Regions from separate parts of the Homo sapiens genome. Here region 1 is linked to region 2. Evidence: promoter capture Hi-C in 16 types of primary human blood cells and fetal thymus (Javierre and others, 2016). All regions are on one chromosome and are shown on one strand. Each heading gives the region's core, a stretch centred on a gene start or on the middle of the fragment in contact. The rest is flanking DNA. Distances are from core to core; before and after follow the strand shown. Region 1 holds the start of CDCA5 (cell division cycle associated 5). Region 2 holds the start of MAP4K2 (mitogen-activated protein kinase kinase kinase kinase 2).

The links. Contacts are between HindIII fragments. The CHiCAGO score rates a contact against its expected background, and 5 or more counts as called.
Region 1: a contact is called between the fragment with the promoter of CDCA5 here and the fragment with the promoter of MAP4K2 in region 2, in 3 of 17 cell types (erythroblasts, endothelial precursors and neutrophils). The highest score is 6.7, in erythroblasts.

Annotation. Positions count from the first base shown.
Region 1 is chr11:65,079,757-65,085,404 of GRCh38, forward strand. CDCA5 (cell division cycle associated 5) reads right to left here and starts at 4,284. Exons shown (of 6, transcript NM_080668.4): 1 at 4,177-4,284; 2 at 3,873-3,967; 3 at 3,729-3,794; 4 at 3,608-3,643; 5 at 1-31. The coding sequence starts at 4,222. It overlaps ZFPL1 (zinc finger protein like 1), which reads left to right and starts at 4,466. Exons shown (of 8, transcript NM_006782.4): 1 at 4,466-4,622; 2 at 4,935-5,044; 3 at 5,359-5,470. The coding sequence starts at 4,943. RefSeq lists enhancers at 4,016-4,245, 4,326-4,595, 5,185-5,648. The HindIII fragment of the contact is 9,431 bases long and covers 1-5,648 here.
Region 2 is chr11:64,801,964-64,804,463 of GRCh38, forward strand. MAP4K2 (mitogen-activated protein kinase kinase kinase kinase 2) reads right to left here and starts at 1,251. Exons shown (of 32, transcript NM_004579.5): 1 at 1,091-1,251; 2 at 922-979; 3 at 600-690; 4 at 456-520; 5 at 103-158. The coding sequence starts at 1,186. It overlaps MEN1 (menin 1), which reads right to left. Exons shown (of 10, transcript NM_001370259.2): 10 at 1,553-2,500. The coding sequence ends at 2,371. RefSeq lists silencers at 881-1,060, 1,211-1,390. The HindIII fragment of the contact is 47,852 bases long and covers 1-2,500 here.

The DNA.
Region 1 (5,648 bases), core at 3,034-5,533, 280 kb after region 2:
GCTCGTTTTCTTTCTCCAAGAAAAAGGAAATCTGCACCAGGACAGAAGAGGGGATGCCCTCAATACTTAGCTGGACTGCTTACTTCCAGAAAAGCCCGAGAAGATTCAGGGTGGAAAGACCCACAGGACACACACTTTTTTTTTTTTTTTTTGAGACGGAGTCTTGCTCTCTCGCCCAGGCTGGAGTGCAGTGGCATGATCTCGGCTCACTGCAAGCTCCGCCTCCCGGGTTCACGCCATTCTCCTGCCTCAGCCTTCCGAGTAGCTGGGACTACAGGCGCCCGCCACCTCGCCCGGCTAATTTTTTGTATTTTTAGTAGAGACGGGGTTTCACCGTGTTAGCCAGGAGGGTCTCGATTTCCTGACCTCGTGATCCGCCCGCCTCGGCCTCCCAAAGTGCTGGGATTACAGGCGTGAGCCACCATGCCCGGCCAACACACACTTTTTTTAAGGAAGGGACAAATCAGACCCTGAAAGAGACATGGAGAGAAGAAAACAACCCACCATTGCTTCCAAGGAGTCTGCTTTTGTGACACAAATGGACTTGCCCCCATCTGCTGGTGCTGTCGCTTGTTTCCAAAATGTGCCCAGCATCCAGCCTCTCCTCTGACCAACTCAAGCCCTCATTAGGTGTCTTCTAGACCAGCTCAGCAACGTTTTTTGTTTTGTTTCCAGATAAACGGTCTCAACTCTGTTGCCCAGGCTGGAGTGCAGTGGCACGATCATGGCTCACTGAAGCCTCAGCCTCCAGGGCTCACGCAATCCTCCTACCTCAGCCTCTGAGTAGCCGGGACTACAGGCATGTGACACTCTGTCTGGCTGATTTTTTTTTAGTTTCTTTGTAGAGTAGGGGAGGTCTCCCTTTGTTGCCCAGGCTGGTCCCAGCGACCTTCTGATTTCTCTCCCTGTTTCCACCCTTGCCTGCTGTGGTCCATCTGCCACACAGCTGATGAGGATTGTCCTAAATGTCCACTCAGTCCATAAGTATTTATCAGTCACCTGTCCTGTGCCAGGCACTGGGAACACAGCAGGGAATAAAACAGAGAAAACCCCTGCCCCATTCTAAGAGAAAAACAGGTAAGAAAATTCAGTATTATGTTAGCAGTATCAAGCACTACAGGAAAACAGAACAGGAGAGAGTGCTTGGGGCAGGTTAGAATTGCAAAAAGATAAAGGTCAATACATCCCTCACTGAGGTGACATTCAAGCTACAACTTGAAGGAGGTGTGGGAGTGACTCATGGCCAAGTTCTAGGCAGTGGGAACAGAAGGTGCAACAACCCTGAGGCCACAGTGTACTAGTCAGGGTCAAACAACAAGGAGGCCAGTGTGGCTGAAGTGAAGGCAAGAGGAAGAAACTGAAGATGAAGTTCAAGAGATAATGGGTGGCCAGATATGGTGGTTCACACCTATAATCCCAGCACTTTGGGAGGCTGAGGTGGGTGGATCACCTGAGGTCAGGAGTTTGAGACCAGCCTGGCCAACATAGTGAAACCCCATCTCTACTGAAAATACAAAAAAAATTAGCCAGGTGTGGTAGCAGGTGCCTGTAAGCCCAGCTACTTGGGAGGCTGAGGCAGGAGAATCGGTTGAACCTGGGAGGCGGAGGTTGCAGTGAGCCGAGATTGCGCCACTGCACTCCAGCCTGGGTGACAGTGCGAGACTCCATCTCAAAAAAAAAAAACACAGGGAAGCTGAACAAATTGGTGGTCACTGCTGACTACGACTTCCTCATTCTCTATAGCCAAGCAGTCACCCAGGTCCTGGCAACTTTATCCTGCTCGATGTACCATGAATCTCAGTCAATCAACAAGAATGAGTGGCTACTAGGAAAGGCAGAAGTCCCTACCCTCAAGGTGCCTGTGTTCTTAGAGGGGGGAGAGAAAGACATCAAACATGCAAGAAAATACACTATAAGAACTGATAAGGACCAGGCACAGTGGCTCATGCCTGTAATCCCAACACTTTAGGAGGCCAAGGTGGGAGGATCACTTGAGCCCAGGAGTTCAAGACCGGCCTGGGCAACATAGTGAACCCTCATCTCTATAAAAAAAATTAGAGAAAACATCAAAAAATTAGCCAGGCATGGTGGCATGTGACTATAGTCCCAGCTACTTGAGAGGCTGAGGAGGGAAGATCTGCAGTGAGCCGAAATCTCGCCACTGCACTCCAGCCTGGGTGGCAGAACAAGACCCTATCTTTAGAACTGGTAAGGCCTAAGAGAATTACATAGAGAAATGTGACAGCAATAGGGTAAGGGTGGTCAGGGAAGGCCACTGGGGGGCAATTCCCTCTGAACCCAGTACTGTATATCATCCTGGCTTTAGCTCACGCCCTTGGCTTCATGCTTCAGAATTCCTGGACTTCACGTCATTCCACTGGTCTTGGAGCCCCAGGGTAGCCCTTCTCAAAACCATTCTCCCCACAGCCCCCAGAGGGGTCTTTCTTAAAACACTCAAACTTGACTCGGTCACTACCTTACCCAGAACTCTCCAAAGGCTGCCCACAGACCCAAGAATGATGCCCAAGCCATGAGTGTGGCTTTTGTGCCTCATCAGGATCTGCTCTGCCTTAGGGTGCTTCCTCCCCTGCTGAGGTCTGCTGCAGACACTAAACAAATTGCTATTCCCCGAACCTTGATTTTTCTTTAAATTCCCAATCTCTGCAAACATGGCTTCTTTGACCTGGAACAAACCTACTTGTCTTTTTTTTTTTTTTTTTTTTTGAGATGGAGTCTCGCTTTGTCACCCAGGCTGGAGTGCAGGGGCGTGATCTCGGCCCACTGCAACCTCCGCCTCCTGGGTTTAAGCGATTCTCCTGCCTCAGCCTCCTGAGTAGCTGGGACTATAGGCACGTGCCACCATGCCTGGCTAATTTTGTATTTTTAGTAGACACAGGGTTTCACCACGTTGGCCAGGCTGGTCTTAAACTCTTGACCACAAGTGATCTGCCCGCCTCAGCCTCCCAAAATGCTAGGATCACAAGCGTGAGCCACTGCACCCGGCCTCTACTTGTCTTTAAAGACTCAGTTCAAATGTTTCTTCTTCCACGAAACATTCCCTGAGCCACATGGTCTGGGTTAGCTACCATCATAGCATCTAGTATTCCTTATTGCAGTCCCAGTACACAACGTTGCTATCACTTGTCATTGGTCTTTCTCCCCAGTTGACTCTAAGCCCTATCAGCTCTTCAAAGGAGTTCACATTTCTCAGTCAGTATGTCTTCAGATTGTCTATTAATGAAACATCCTTTGATAATAACTTCTGCTAAAACTGTAAAAATGTCATACACATGACTTATCTCAGAACACCCATACATGAAAGCTGAAGGCATAATGGATTAGAAAGGCAGTACGTGGAGTTAAGACATAGCTCAGCTTTTAAAGGAAGTTCCAGGAAAATGGTAGAAATACACAAGGCATAAAAAGTTAAGTGTATTAAGTCTTCAGGGAGTAATCAAGACTGGCAATGCATGCAGGTGCCCACAGGCAAACTGTTTTTGCAGTACTGCAAAACAGCTCCCTGGGCAGATGTGAGGAGCCAATGTGTGCTGTCCAGCTCTAGAGTGACCCAGATTCTACTTAATTAAGTAGATGAAAGTGAACTCACCCTAGGGCTCCTGCGAGGTGATTGGACAGCTGGGACCTGCGGGGGACAATACCAATTGATCACATAGCTGGTCCCCAGTTTTGCCCGCCTAACCACCCACAACACTCTCCTTAGCCTTTACCTCTACAGCATGGGCCACGATCCTCTTTAAGACGATGGGCTTTCTGACTGCAGCCGCACTGGGTGTCTGGAGAAGAGGGATGAACGTGAGCTCAACATTAGGTGAGGGGCCACAAGGGGAGGAAGTGAGAAATCTGGGGCTCACCTTCGGCCAGATTTCAGGGAGGATGCTCGGGAGTTCAGAGCCTGATTTCCGCTGGGACCTCCGCAGAGGCTTAGTAGGAGATGGGGCCCTTGGCCCTGGAAAGAGAAAAAAGTTAAGTGGTAGAGGAGGACTCTAGACCTTAGAGTCCAGAGAACAGGTTCTAGAGACAGCGAGAAGATTCCCAAACAAGCCCTTTTAAGGGCGCCTCCTCCGGCGGCGGCAGCGGGAGGGAAGAGGCCATCTTTCACCGGACTGCGTCCCCCAAACGGCTCGACCTCACGTCTCCCGCGCGCCCTCCGCTCACCGGAGCGCTGAGCGGCTCCTCCGGACCGCGTTCGCCTCCCAGACATAACTTAGGCTCCGTCTCGAGCTCCTCCAGCGCCGCCGCCCCGGGCGCGCGCCAACCGGGAAGGCCACTCGCTGCAAAAAACGTTCGAATTACCCGCCCTGCGGGAAAGGAAGCGGAAGTGACGTAGGGCTAGCGGTCTGCGGCCCTCGGAACCCCGAGTCTTTTCCACCCGTCTTCACCTCTAGCGGCAGCGGAGGCGTGGCCCAGGGGCGCGATGGCGTCATCAGCGCGCGCCGCACCCGGAAGAGACGTGGCAGCGGAGGGATAATCGGGGCGGCCGGGGCTGAAGGGAGAGGCGCAGGAGCCCTGGGGAGAGTGGTCCCTGCCCTTCCGCGCCTCGAGCCATCGCTACCGCCCTTCGGAACCAGTGCAGCGGCCGATCAGTAAACACAGAGACTGGGGTCTGTAGAGAAGGGGCGGGACTTGGAGGGGGTGGGGCTCAGGAGAGGTCTTGGGGGCGGGGCCGGTAGTATCGGGGAGCCTCTGATGGAGGGGCCTGGCCGGGGGCGGGATCCAGAAGGATTGAGGGGTCGCCGGAGGCGGGATTTATGCAGGGGGTGTTTCTCCGCATAAGGAGGGACAGTGGGCAGGAATCTGAGATCGGGGCGAATATGAGAGGTGTCTGGGGGAGTTAAGAGTGGAAACTGGGCTGGTGAGAGCGTAGTGGTGGCCACCAGAACCTGACTTCCTACCAACTCATGCCCCTTTCCCAGGATCGATCATGGGGCTTTGTAAGTGCCCCAAGAGAAAGGTGACCAACCTGTTCTGCTTCGAACATCGGGTCAACGTCTGCGAGCACTGCCTGGTAGCCAATCACGCCAAGGTGGGGCCTTCAGGGGAGCGACTGAGCAGGGCACTGGGTGGGCAAGGCGGTATTGGCTTCCTCCAAATCCATGAGGGGCCCCGCGCTAGAATGTAAGCCCCACAAGGGCAAGGACTTGATTTATTTTGTTCACTGATATATCCCCCGTTCCCAAGAGAGAGTCTGGTGCACAGTATGTGCTCAATAAATATTTATTGATTAAACAAACGAAAGGATGAGTCTCCTCTGTGGCTAGAGAAAAAGAGACAGTCGGACCTTGGGGTGATAGGCCGAGCAGCCCCAGCACCAGTTGTGACATCTCTCTCCCACTCCAGTGCATCGTCCAGTCCTACCTGCAATGGCTCCAAGATAGCGACTACAACCCCAATTGCCGCCTGTGCAACATACCCCTGGCCAGCCGAGAGACGACCCGCCTTGTCTGCTATGGTGAGGCCTTGGCACCTCGGGGGGATCAGGCCAGCCTCAGGGGCCAGCTTGGTGACTGGTTTCCAGGCCCTCCTCAAGCAGCAGGACAGTGAGTCCCCCGAGTCTCAGAGCCCAGATTCTAGTCCTGTTAAAGTTCCTTACCTGCTGTGTAAGTTCAGGCAAGTTATTCTTCCTTTCT
Region 2 (2,500 bases), core at 1-2,500:
GCCCCACCCGAGGCACTCCACCCGCCTCCCTGCTGGTCATCTGGGCTCCTGGCCCACAGCTTCTGGAGACCAGAGGTGTGGGCACCTCACAGGCCCAGCTACCTTCAGTGCCTCTCGGCAGACGTAGGCAATCTGCCGCTCCTCCAGGGGCCCAGTGGCTGAAAGGAAAAGGGAGAGGCTGGCTTGGGGGCCCGGGGGTCATGCCCACCCTCCCAGGCTACCGTGTGTGGGAAAAGCAGCAGGCACTGTTAAATGAAAGCGGTGTTGGCCACGTCCCCTCCCAGTTTAGTCTAGGATACTGAACCCAGAGATGGACAGTATTTCTCTCAAGGTCACACAGCCAGGCAGGAGTGGAGAGGAGCCCAAGTCCAGGGCCCAGAGTCCCCTCTGGTACCCCAGTGGGGTAGGGGTGGGGGAAGGCTGGGGCCTGCTGGGGCCTGGAGCCCTGGCCTCACCATGGTAAATCTCCTGCAGGGAGCCCCCTCCGCAGAACTCCATGCAGATCCACAAGCGGTCATTCCTAGGGACAAAGAGCTGGGGTGGGCACAAAGCAGGTCACATGGGGGCTGCCTGGGGCCAGGAGGATAAGGCAGCCTCACCTGAGGTAGCTGCCAATGTAGGCCACCACATTGGGGTGGCGGCACTCACGCAGGATGGTGATTTCCTGCTGGAGGGAGCTGATGTCGTCCCCTGGGAAGCACAAAGCATCATGGGGAAGGCGCGCTGGGGTTGCCCTGACTCAGTGCCCCCATCTGCAAAATGGGCACAGAGTGCCTCCCTCCGGGCCAGGCAGGTGCAGGTGACAGCACCTCCCGGGGCACGCCTCTCAGGGGTCTCGGAAACGTCAACCCTCCGCCCGCACCCCGCGCCCGCGGGCGCTCTGCCCTTCCTCTGGCGCAGAGGCCCGACCCGGGCCCTCACCTGGGTCTAGCTTGACTATCTTCACGGCGGCCAGTTCGGACGTGACCGTGTCGCGGGCCTGCAGGGGCGGAGGGTGAAGCGGGATGGGGGGCGGGGCCGGGGGCTAGATCCTGCCGCGGGGTGCGGGGCTGGCACCCTCCTCCCGGCTCTCCCGCCCGTCCCGTCGCACCTTGTAGACGTCGCCATAGGTCCCGGCCCCCACGCGCTGCAGCAGCTCGAAGCGGTCCCGCGGGTCCTGCAGCGACACATCCCGCAGCAGCGCCATGGCCCGGCGCCGGGCGGGCCGGCAGGCGGGCGGGCGCGAGCTGCGGAGCCGGCGCGGGGCGGCGCGGGGCGGGGCGGGCGCCCGTGGCTCTGAGGCCGCGGGGGCGGGGCTGAGGCCCGGGGGCGGGGCCGCGCCGGGGATGCCCCACCGCCAGTCCGGGAGGAGGCGCCCGCGGGACGGGCCCTCGGCGGCGCGGGGAAGCCCCAAGGCCGGGGCGGAGCCTACGTCCTTCCGCCGCCACTGTCGCTCGCGCTCCACAGGTAGGGAGCGCAAAGTCCCGGGAGCCAGAAGACAGAGGGAAGAGGGGGCGCTCCACTCCCCGCCCCATCCCCAATTTCCCAGATAAACATGGACTTGCGCTTTATATTTTTTTTAACAAAATGTATTCATCTTTCTTGGAACTGAAAAATAAATCTATGTACAAAACAGGAAGAGATCAGGCTCTTGTCACCCACTCCTAACCCTCTGCAGATTTCCTCCGGGATGCTCCGAGATGGGCTGGACCTCTGGGAGGTTCCCAGAGGGTCGGAAGGGAGGTCCTGCTCTGATCCGGGGCCAGTTTCGTCAGGAAGAGGGCGGGGCTCAGGATGCTCATAGGCTGGGGGCGGAGTTTTGTGTCCCAGACTCGGGATACGAAGGAGAGGAAACTAGGATTTCCAAATTCTGGAGCAGGACTGAAGTTATTTGGGGCAGGGAGCTTGGATTCGCAAGATATGGAATTCTGAAGTGCGGAAATATACTCCTAGGGGCTGAGTGGTCCTAGGCTCCCGGGCTGGAGGTGGGACCTGTGCTCCTTGGGTTAAGGGTGAAACCTCAGCTCCTACAAGCTGGGAGGAGCCCTGAGTAACGTTGGTCTGGCTCTAGGTGAGCGGTTCCGAGGAGGAGCTTGGGTTTCTAGGGGCTGGGCCTTTAAAGACTGGTAATTAGGACCCAGCGTGAGGTTTCCATTGGCCGGCTGGGATTCTGGGAGAAGAGACCTATATTCTAACGACTGGGGCAGAGCCCTGGGTTCTGAGCTGGAGAAAATCGTGGGTTTGATACAGACTGTACTCGGGACCGGGAACCTAGGGTTTGGGTAGAGGTGAGGCCTGTCCCCTTTGGGCTGGGGGCAGAACATGGGCTCAGAGTTGGGGGACTAAGGGCGGAGCCTGGGTCCCCACAAGCGGTCCGAAGTCCCCAGTAGTTCAGAGGCCTTTGCGCTGCCGCTTGAGGAAAGACAGAGTGTAGTCACTAGGGGTGGACACTTTCTGCTTCTTCATCTGCACTTGCGACTGTGCCGTGAGTTGCAGCTTGATGGCGCTCGAGTTGATCTTG